Regions from separate parts of the Homo sapiens genome. Here region 1 is linked to region 2. Evidence: promoter capture Hi-C in human tissues and cell types (Jung and others, 2019). All regions are on one chromosome and are shown on one strand. Each heading gives the region's core, a stretch centred on a gene start or on the middle of the fragment in contact. The rest is flanking DNA. Distances are from core to core; before and after follow the strand shown.

Region 1 (4,962 bases), core at 2,353-4,852, 44 kb before region 2:
AGATTCCCTTTTATTCAAGGAACTGGCCTTGTTGAGGGGAGTTCAACAGACTAGCTCAAGTCAGAATTCTCTTCAACAGATCTAGAGCTTTTCTGTTTATACAAATCAAGTAAAACTTGATTTTCAAAGGCTGCCATCTATTTCAGTCCTAGGGACAGTGGAATCAATTAGCTAACACCAAAAATATCTACAGATAAGGGCCCTTCACCAAAACTCCCAAGGAGGCCTTCTCTTTCTCTTTGAATGTTAATTGCATGTTCCTTCTTTTTTTTTTTTTTTAAGACAGTCTTGCTCTTGTCACCCAGACTAGAGTGCAATGGTGCGATTTCAGCTCACTGCAACCTCCACCTCCTGGGTTCAAGTGATTCTCCTGCCTCAGCCTCCAGAGTAGCGAGGGATTACAGGCGCCCACCACCATGCCCAGCTAATTTTTGTATTTTTAGTAGAGATGGGGGTTTCACCATGTTGGCCAGGCTGGTCTCGAACTCCTGACCTCAGGTGATCCACCTGCCTCAGCCTCCCAAAATGTTGGGATTACAGGTGTGAGCCACCGCACCCAGCTGGCATGTCCCTAATTTTTATTTCTCTTATTCTTCTGCATGCACTCGAGGGCCTATTGTCACTATAATTGTCACAGCTCCCTTTCCCCATGCCTTGCCCTTTACCTCACTCCATCCCATGGTACCACCAGTCAAAATTTGAATTGTGACACCACTGTATGCCATGGATCACTCATGTCCCATTCCCGGCCTCCCCTCCACCACCTCCCATGAGGAGGTTATTGAGCTCTTCAAGTATGACTAACCCAATCCCAGATCTAATTTTAAGAGTCTGTTTCCCAGGGCCACTTCTGGTACCAATTACTCTATCAGTCTGGATCCCAAAAAGAAACAGATGGCGCACTTGTAATAGCATAATTTGAAGAGGACTTATGTAGCAGAACTTAACAAAGGGAGGCAACAGTTACCAGAAAATGAGGCAAGAGTCATGTAGATTCAGACTCAGTAAGAGACCTCACGCTGAAGGACGAAGCAGCTAGAGACAATCTTGCAGGGAGGGAATTAGAGGCAGACACACTCTAATTAGGGAATTAGAGGACCTTACTGTCTTCCTTCCCACTGATTTCCTGGGGGGAATCCCTGGTGAGCAAACCCAAATGGAAGCCAGGGACCAAAGGGAATGTTAGTGTGGTTCATACGGGCCAATCTGTGGAGACAGTGAGCTTAGAGAACAGCCCTGAAGATGTAGGCACCTGCTACACTCTCTATTCTGTAATTAGATTAATGAGATAATGGAAAGACAACCGGGGAATCTAAGAATCAATACTTTCCCACAGAGTCTACAAGGAAGTCTGACCTTAGACCAGACTGTACAGTACTGTTAAGTGATTTTCATATCCGTTCTCTTTGCTCCTCTGATTGAAGACATGTCCCCCCACATTCCTTTATAGACAGGGTAGTGCAGTGAAAGAACTGAATTTGGAGACAGGTTATCTGACTTGACTTTTTTTGTTGAGACAGTCTCACTCTGCCCAGGCTGGAGTGCAGTGGCACGGTCTCGGCTCAATACAACCTCGACTCCTGGGTTCAAGTGATTCTCCTGCCTCAGCCTCCTGAACAGCTGAATTTACAGGGTGCATGCCACCATGCCCGGCTTTTTTTTTTTTTTTTTTTCTCGAGACGGAGTCTCGCTCTGTCGTCCAGGCTGGAATGCACTGGCACGATCTCGGCTCACTGCAACCTCCGCCTCCCGGGTTCAAACAATTCTCTGCCTCAGCCTCCCAAGTAGCTGGGATTACAGGTGCCCACCACCATGCCTGGCTTATTTTTTTGGACTTTTTTTTTTTTTTTTAGAGACGGAGTCTCGTTCTGTTGCCCAGGCTGGAGTGCAGTGGCACGATCTTGGCTCACCACAACCTCCGCCTCCCAGGTTCAAGTGATTCTCCTGCCTCAGCCTCCCGAGTAGCTGGGATTACAGGCATGCACCACCATGCCCGGCTAATTTTTGTATTTTTAGTAGAGACGGGGTTTCACTATGTTGCCCTGGCTGGTCTCGAACTCCTGACCTCGTGATCTGCCTGCCTTGGCCTTCCAAAGTGCTGGGATTACAGGCATGAGCCACTGCATCTGGCCAATTTTTGCATTTTTGTAGAGACAGGGTGTCACCACGTTGGCCAGGCTGGTCTCAAACTCCTGACCTCAAGTAATACCCCCACCTCGGCTTCCCAAAATGTTGGGATTACAGGTGTGAGCCACTGTGACTGGCCAATGTACTTTTCCAATGTACAATCTGTAAATCTTTGAAGTCTCCTTAACATTTTTTTTTGAGACACACACACACACACACACACACACACACACACACACACACACAGGATCTATGTTGCCCAAACTGGATTTGAACTGCAGGTACTCAAGCGATCCCCCAGACTTAACCTTCTGAGTAGCTGGGACTACGTGTGCCACTGGGCCCAGCTTTCTCCTTAACTTCTGAATTTACTTGAACTAAATTCTAATTCCTATTATTCTAAGTTACTACTTATTCTATATCCTCCACAGCTCACTTAATTGATAAGAAGATTTTAACAGCTGCTTATCAATCTTCTCCATAACATCGCATGTTCAGCTTTCTGCCAAACCCAAACAGGTCACGGATTCTCTCGTTTTCTTCCAGAAATTATAGTTTCATGTTCTACTTTTAGGTCTATGATCCATTTCTTTTGTTTTTTGAGATAGGGTCTTGCTCTGTCACCCAGGCTGGAGTGCAGTGGCGCAATCTTGGCTCATTGCAACCGCCCTCTCCCGGGTTCAAGCAATTCTTGTGCCTTAGCCTCCTAAGTAGCTGGGACTACAGGCATGCACCACCACGCCCAGCTAATTTTTATATATTCAGTAGAGGTGGTGTTTTGTGATGTTGGCCAGGTTGGTCTTGAACTCTTGGCCTCAAGTTATCTGCCTGCCTTAGCCTCCCAAAGTATTGGGATTACAGGCCTGAGCCACTGTGCCTGGCCGTATGATCCATTTTGAGTTTTTATAGAAGGCACAAGGAATGGGTGAAAGATTTTTTGCAACATATTCAATATCACTTATTGAAGACTCTATTTTCTTCATTGAATGGCCTTTGCACTGTCAAAAATCAACTATATTTGTGTGGGTCTATTTTTCGGCTATTCTGTTCCATCAATACATGTCTATCCTTTTGCTAATACGTTACTGCATCTTTATATTGAGTCCAAATCAGGTAGTGACTCCTCCAATTTCTTCCTATTACAGAATTGTTACAGCATAATTTGCCTTCCCATATAAATTTTACTACTTTAGAGAGGTCTATGTTGCCCAGGCTGGCCTGGAACCCCTGGGCTCCACTGATGTTCCCATTTTATCCTCCTGAATAGCTGGGACTATAGGTGAATGCCAACACACCCAGCATTCCACGTTATTTTATAGAATCAGCTTGTGGGTATTTACAAAAAAGCCTATTGGGATTGACTGGAAATGCATTGACCCTCTGGACCAAATTGGTGAAACTCAAGATTTATTCTTCCAGTCCATGAACCATGGCATCTCCATTTATCTAGGTCTGATTTTTCTGTCAGTTTATTTTGTAGCTCCAGCATATAGGTATTGCAGTTGTTTGCCCCTTGGTATCCATGGGGGTTGGTTCCAGGATTCCACCCTCCCTTGCAAATACCCAAACCCTCAGATGCTCAAGTCCCTTATATAAAATGATGTAGTGTTTGCGTATAATCTCTGGACATCATCTTGCACACTTTGTCATTTCCAGATTACTCGTATCTAGTGCAATAAGTGCTACGTAGATAGTTGTTATACTGTAGTTCAGAGAACAAGAAAAATCTGTACATACTCAGTACAGACCCAACCATTGTAGGCCTAACACTTTTGGTCTGCAGTTGACTAAATGTGCAGACGTAAAACCCAGATACAGGGGACTGACTCTATTTTCTTAGTTATACTTAAGCATTTCTTTGGGTAGAGAGGTAGTGAGAGTGATGTGCTCAACTTTAAGTGTCTGCTTTTCCCAACTTTTATTTCCCAATCTTTTATTTCATCAGTGGTTTGTAGTTCTCAGCATATGAATTCCATTCATACTGTTAAGATGTAGTATGCCTTGGTTTTGGGGGTATGTTCAGCTTTACATTTGAGAACAATTGTAGGAGGTGGTAATTACTGATGTATTTGGACATATTATGGACCACATCTCCCCTCTTCCCAACCGATTATCTTGGTTCTCCATTTAGGCTGTGAAATCTGACAGCATGGTGGAACAGTATCTACAACAGATGAAGGGGCTCTGAATTCAACTGGGCTTCACAGGAATGATGGGTTGAGAAATGTCTGTTTCACAGTATGAATTACCTGAGCAAAATGCTCAGATTCCTATGCACACAGCTGCTACTAAGGACATACCACACACACATTTGGAGTTCCAGTGGGCTTTTATTGAGATAAATTAACAAAAACCAAGATTTTACCATATTTTTGGAACCTTATAAACTCAGCAGACTCCGGTCCATATATGCGTACATACAACATAACACATCCCAACAAAAACAGAGCCCCCCCCCCCCCCACTGGAACATCTGCCAATTAAGAGAAAGCCAATTTTCCCTTCCCCCAATGTTTCTGAAATTTTGAGTTCCCACTGTTCACTTCTCAGTGGAACTGGTCCCTTGTGGCTAGGGACATTGGAATTCTCTACCATTTTTACTGAACAAAAAATAATTTTTTTTCCTGTTTCAAAAAAGGGAATAGTGACTTTGTTTTCTCCAGGCTCCCCTTCCCACACAACCAATGTAAAATACAGCAGCCTGTATCTTAATAACCCAGCCCTACCCCCTCCCTTACCCAGCATTGTCTACTGGAGAATTTAAATACACTTCTGTTGGAATCTGTCAGCTGTGGATGGGCAGAGTCCAGGTGCCAGGCTAGCTCCCTCTGACCT
Region 2 (5,432 bases), core at 1,012-3,511:
ACTCCTAACCTCAAATGATCTGCCCGCCTTAGCCTCCTAAAGTGCTAGGATTACAGGCGAGAGCCACCGTGCCCGGCTGAAATCTTACTTTTAATTGGAGTTAATAAAAACATACAAAGACACGAAAACAAAGCCCTACTCTGTTGGCTTTTGATTTAACCCCGTTACACTTTTTTTTTTTTTTTTTTTTTGAGGCGGAGTCTCGCTCTGCCGCCCAGGTTGGAGTGCAGTGGCACAATCTTGGCTCACTGCAACCGCCGCCTCCTGGGTTCAAGCGATTCCCCTGTCTCAGCCTCCCGAGTAGCTGGGATTACAGGCGCCTGCCACCACGCGCAGCTAAATTTTTTCTATTTTTAGTAGAGACGGGGTTTTGCCATGTTGGCCAGGCTAGTATCGAACTCCTGACCTCAGCTGATCCGCCTGTCTTGGCCTCCCAAAGTGCTGGGATTACAGGTGTGAGCCACCGCTCCCAGCAACCCCGTTACATTTCTTATATAAAATACACTAGCTTACGAGTGCTGATTCTTTCTGCCATACACCAAGGCATGTGAAACTCAAAATTTTAAAGTCAACAGATCTCAACATTTATGAAGAAAATGCTCCTTGATTATGCCTTCCTTAAAAAAAAAATGAACAAGTTGCTCACAAGCAAATCCTGATTATCACATACACAAAGCTGTTTACTTCAGACTCTGACCTCTTAAGCAGATATGGTTAACAGCTACTTTCCTGTATTGACGGTTTTATATTATGATCAGCGATATCACGCAGTTCACAGAGACTTAGCTGTTTGCAGAGCACTAAGAGGATGAAAAGGGCAACCTCTAAAGACCGAACGATATCATCATTACTGTCCATCATGCACAGTAAGACCTCCTATATCCTTAAATCCAAAATGAGACTATGTGATAACTGCTCCCTTCTTAAACTGAAACCTGCACTGCAGCTTTTTCTCAGAGAAGGAAATATTCCTCCTACCCCTTCCCAATTTAGATTTGCAAGTTTTCTACATTTTCAAAAACAAAAAACAAAAAAACAAAAAACAAACAACAAGAAACGTAGACTAGTTGGGAGGAGCCCCTAGCGGAGTTAATTACAGCACTTCACAGATCGTAGTTAGCAATTGACAGTTTCACACCCAAAACAGTATCGTCATCGCCAACAAGAGCTTTTGTTTGCAAATGCAGCGCAGTTTTTCTAGCTTTGCCTGCAAGTTGGAGTGACTGGGTTTTATTCTGAAGGGAAATGGGGGCTGAGGAAGAGAAAGGAGAGAGATACGGGAAAGAGTCATTGACTAATGACTGGAACCCCGTAACTGAAAGGAAATTTCTTGTCCCCCCGCACCCCGCCCCACGCCCCAAACACACACACTTCTGACCATAAACACAAAAGGTTGGGGCTCTGCAATCTTATCTGCGCAATATGAGCCAGCAACCGCTCCATTAGTAGCAAACAATAGGGACTCCCCCAAGGAGGCCCCAAATGGACCCCCTAAACCAGAAATCCCCCTCCTTTCCTCCAAGAGTCGGGGGCTCCATAAATACCCTCTTGTTATTGACCCGCAAGGCCTACTGCAATCAAGCAGCGGCCGGTTTGCTTCTAAACCGAGCCCTCCAATACAGCATGTCCCTGCCGCCCCCTATAGGGCCGCCTCGTACCCTATAACCTCCACCATCATCCCCCTAAGTCCTTGCCGCCCCCTTCGGCCTCATATTCCCTCATCTTCGATAAAGCTACTCCGAGTACTTAGCCTGTTCCTCCTGCCGACCCTGCTGCGCACCACATTCCTATATTCGCCTCCTCTCAGGCGCTCCCACCCCACACAGCTGCCGACCGCCTTCCTCCCCAGGCCCGGCCAGGCCTTAGGCCTCCGCCCGAGAGTCCCCCAGAGCCGGCCCGGGGGGCTCCCCACAGCCCCCAAAGCACCGCTGACCTCGACCCCACCACCTCACCCCAAGCCTCGCGACTCGGGCCCGTGTCCTACCAACGAGGCCACTCCCGCTCGGCACCCTCGGTCCTTTATTGTTGACTCGAAGCTCCCAAAATGGCGGACGCTCCTTCCTCCTCGGAAACCTCCGCCCGCCCCCACCCAGCCCTCTCGCTACGGCCTCCTCTCGCCCCCGCCCCCGCCCCGCTCCGAGGGGCGCGCAGGCCAGCCGCCCGAGCCGCCGGCTCCCCCGGCTGTCCAGCCCTACCTCCTCCGCTGCCCGCTCTCGTGGCGCCGCCGAAGTCGCCGCCTGGCTGAGCTAACTCGGCTCCTCTGCCCCCTCCCTCGCTCGCCCGTTCGCCCGCCCGCCGCCTCCTCCCTCTTTCCCTGCCTCTCCGCATGGCGGCGACCGCGGCTCCTCCTCCACTCAAGATGGCGAAACCTCGGCCGCCGCGGCTATATTCGCCGCGGCGTCACTGCCTTCCTGGCCTGGTGGTGAGAGGAAGTCGGGCCGCGAAAGCTTCCTGAGGAGAAAATGGAGGGCCCTTCTCTCACACCGACGAGAAAAGTTCGAGGGGGAAATACGAGTTCCTTTCTGAAGGGACAGGACGGCTGCTTTTCCACAGCCGCGACGTGATTGAGAAATGGTGGCTGGCAAGGGTAGGCCTGCCTTCGCCCCTCCAAAGTAAAAATCGGGAGTTGAGACCAGAGGAACATCTCTTTATTACATGACTAAGGATATGTTTTGAAAACTGGCCCCCGGGCAGCTGCTCGGGGACAGGAAGCTGACCTGACTTCTCCAGCTGGCCGGGGAGGCTGATGCCGGGCCTAAGGGGCCGCGTCCGAGCCTCTCGGGGCGCGCCTCCATGCAGGAAGGCGCGGAACTAGCGACCCGGAGACGCCGGGCGCGCGTCTGAGTGTGGGGGCAGGAAGGGGGGCCGACCGGGCCCGGAGGCCGCACCAGGCAGGAGGGAGGACTCCAGAGAGTGCGCGGGGGGCGCTGCGCGGTGGGACGGGGCGAGCCTGTAGGGCGCGCCTGGCGGCGGGTAGGCTCCGGGCTTGAGGGTGCGCCTGGGGGCGCTGGTTGTGGGGGAAGGCACCGGGCTTGAGGGTGCACCTGGGCGGGGGAAGTCTTCGGGCATGAGGGCGCGCCTGCGGGTGGTATGGGGGGGTACACCGAGCTTGAGGGTGCGCCCGGGGGGCTCTCATGTGAAGGGTACCAGGCTTGAGGGCGCCCCTGCGGGGGGCGCAGAGGCACCGAGCTTGAGGGTGCGCCTCGGGGGTCTGCGGGGGGAAGGCACCGGACTTGAGCGTGCGCCGGGAGAGGACGGCGGGGGACCGGACTGTGAGGGCGTATCTTGGGGGACCTGTCTAGGAGGAACCGGGAGGTGAAGGCACAACTGGGGGTGAGGCGGGGGCAGGGGCCGGGCTGTGAGAGTGCGACTGAGGGGGGATTACTCCGGAGAGCACGGAGCTGGGGGCGTTGCGCAGGTGGAGTGGGGAGGCCTGGTGGAGAGGGTAGCAAACCGAGAGAGCGCACCGGGGTGGTGGGGGGAGAAGCTGGACTGTAAGGTGAAGAGTTAGTAGGGCGCAACCGTCTTCTCCTGCCCTCGAAGGGCAAGACTGAAGAAAGTAGGGGCGGAGGAGGCCGGGCCCTCCACTAAAGGGAGGGAAGCTAGTGAAGCGTCAGTTATAATAGAAATAGGAATTCAGTAAGGAAATGGAGAAGCTTAAGGCAAAGGGTGACTCTCCGGCCTGACCCTCACTATGAAGATATTTATGTATGTTCCCATAATACTTTTCAGATCCCAATGTCTGTGTTTATCCTTGACAGAAATAATAGAACTGCTGTCTTCTTCCAAGTTAAACAAAACTTTGGAGCTAAAAGCTAGCTAGGTCAAGAGAAACAAAATCTAATCCTCACCCAATTGAGAGACTGAATATACAAAGAATGGCCAAACCTAACCATGACCTCCTACCCATAACCTCTTCAGTAATCGGCCAGAAGGGTCAGGACTTAATCTTTAACCGGCAGCTTCCCTATTTCTTGCCCCTGCTTCCAGCTCTGGGCCAATCAGAGAAAGCCAAATGTGCTCCTCACACCAATCGCGTAAGAAGCCCTGCTTCTAGTATAGCCCTCCTCCAACTTCCCGATGCCAACATCCTCCAATCAGAGCCAACCTGAAGTTTCTCCCTTTTTTCAGTATATGTAAAGCTTTTCCACTCCCCTGCCTGCCTATGAGTCTGTTAAATCAAGTGATGGGTCGCGGCTGACTCTTGCCAGCTCTGAGTAAATAGCCTATTCTCATTTGGTGGTCGTTATTTCTACACAGCCGGTGGGAAGGTGGTGGAGAATAGTGAAGACTATTCTTAAGGTTAAAAAGAAGGTTCGGCTTACATTTTTTTTTTATTTTAAATTTACAGCATGGCGTCTCCAGCCCAGGTTTTAAAATACCTTCTAATGTAAGGAAATAGCCCTGCACCTTGTGCCCATCCTAGAGAGAAAATGGTTTCTTAATAAAAAATGTATGAGGCCTTTTTTGCCCCAATATCTTCCCAAGCAGAGGAATGTGAAGGGGGGTTGGGCCAAGAAGTGAGTGGTAGGAAGAGAGGCCTACGGATTTAAAACAGGCCACTGCTTGGAGGGGTGTCTTTCCTAAACCACTGAAGAAATTGAACCAGGCAAAGGAAGGGGGTTCACACCCACAAATAAACTATAACCTACAAAAGGAGCCCGGGTTCACATCCACAAATAAATTGTAACCTACACAAGGAGTCTGGTTGAGGTCACAAAACAAAAGCCAGGAGGCAACCAAAAGTAGAATATGAAATAGGTGCTGCCTTCTCACCTAGGAATCCTTCCAGGGCTAAAACCTTCAAATATTCTGCTTTTAAGGTAGTCAGATACCCTCACAACTCATTTACATCAGCCCTTCTCTGTTTTCAAGTGAGAAGCATAGATGGTTTAGAATTAAGCTATGAACTCTTGGATCTTTTCTTCCAAGTTTAGTGTTAGTGGTAGATAGGTCTAGTCCAACTATCTCAATACATTGTTTTCTCCCTAGTTAAAACAGATTTGCAAGAATCATTTGTATGACACTTTAGGAATACAGATAAATTGCTAGTGCAAATAATATCCTTATATTTATAAAATATATGTGTACTTTTAAAAAAGTTATATGAATCCAATCCTCTGGCCTTTTAGTTAGTATTGAGTGTGATAGTTGTGGGAGATCTGTAGTAAATACGGTTTCTGAAGGGTGTGCTATCATCCCTAATGAACTCACCTATTAATTGTGGTAAAGAGTTTTTCACTTGGGCTGGGCACGGTGGCTCACGCCTGTAATCCCAGCACTTTGGGAGGCCGAGGCAGGTGGGTCGACTGAGGTCAGGAGTTCCAGACCAGCCTAGCCAACATGGTGAAACCCCGTCTGTACTAAAAAAAAAAAAAAGAAAAAAAATAGCTGGGCATGGTGGCAGGTGCCTGTAATCCCAGCTACTTGGG

What was found. The method cuts DNA at HindIII sites, captures the fragments that hold promoters and counts their contacts. A contact is called where the count stands out against the background at its distance.
Region 1: a contact is called between a fragment that was not itself captured here and the fragment with the promoter of DDX6 in region 2, in 2 of the 25 tissues and cell types used here (hippocampus and liver).

Annotation. Positions count from the first base shown.
Region 1 is chr11:118,743,326-118,748,287 of GRCh38, forward strand. It overlaps DDX6 (DEAD-box helicase 6), which reads right to left. Exons shown (of 14, transcript NM_004397.6): 14 at 4,438-4,962. Among named protein-coding and RNA genes, the nearest start is that of DDX6, 45 kb to the right of the region's middle. The HindIII fragment of the contact is 8,714 bases long and covers 1-4,962 here.
Region 2 is chr11:118,788,903-118,794,334 of GRCh38, forward strand. It overlaps DDX6 (DEAD-box helicase 6), which reads right to left and starts at 2,262. Exons shown (of 14, transcript NM_004397.6): 1 at 2,196-2,262. RefSeq lists enhancers at 862-1,419, 878-1,057, 2,368-2,477, 3,094-3,649, 4,038-4,147 and silencers at 1,258-1,337, 1,968-2,297, 2,748-3,037. The HindIII fragment of the contact is 8,574 bases long and covers 1-3,051 here.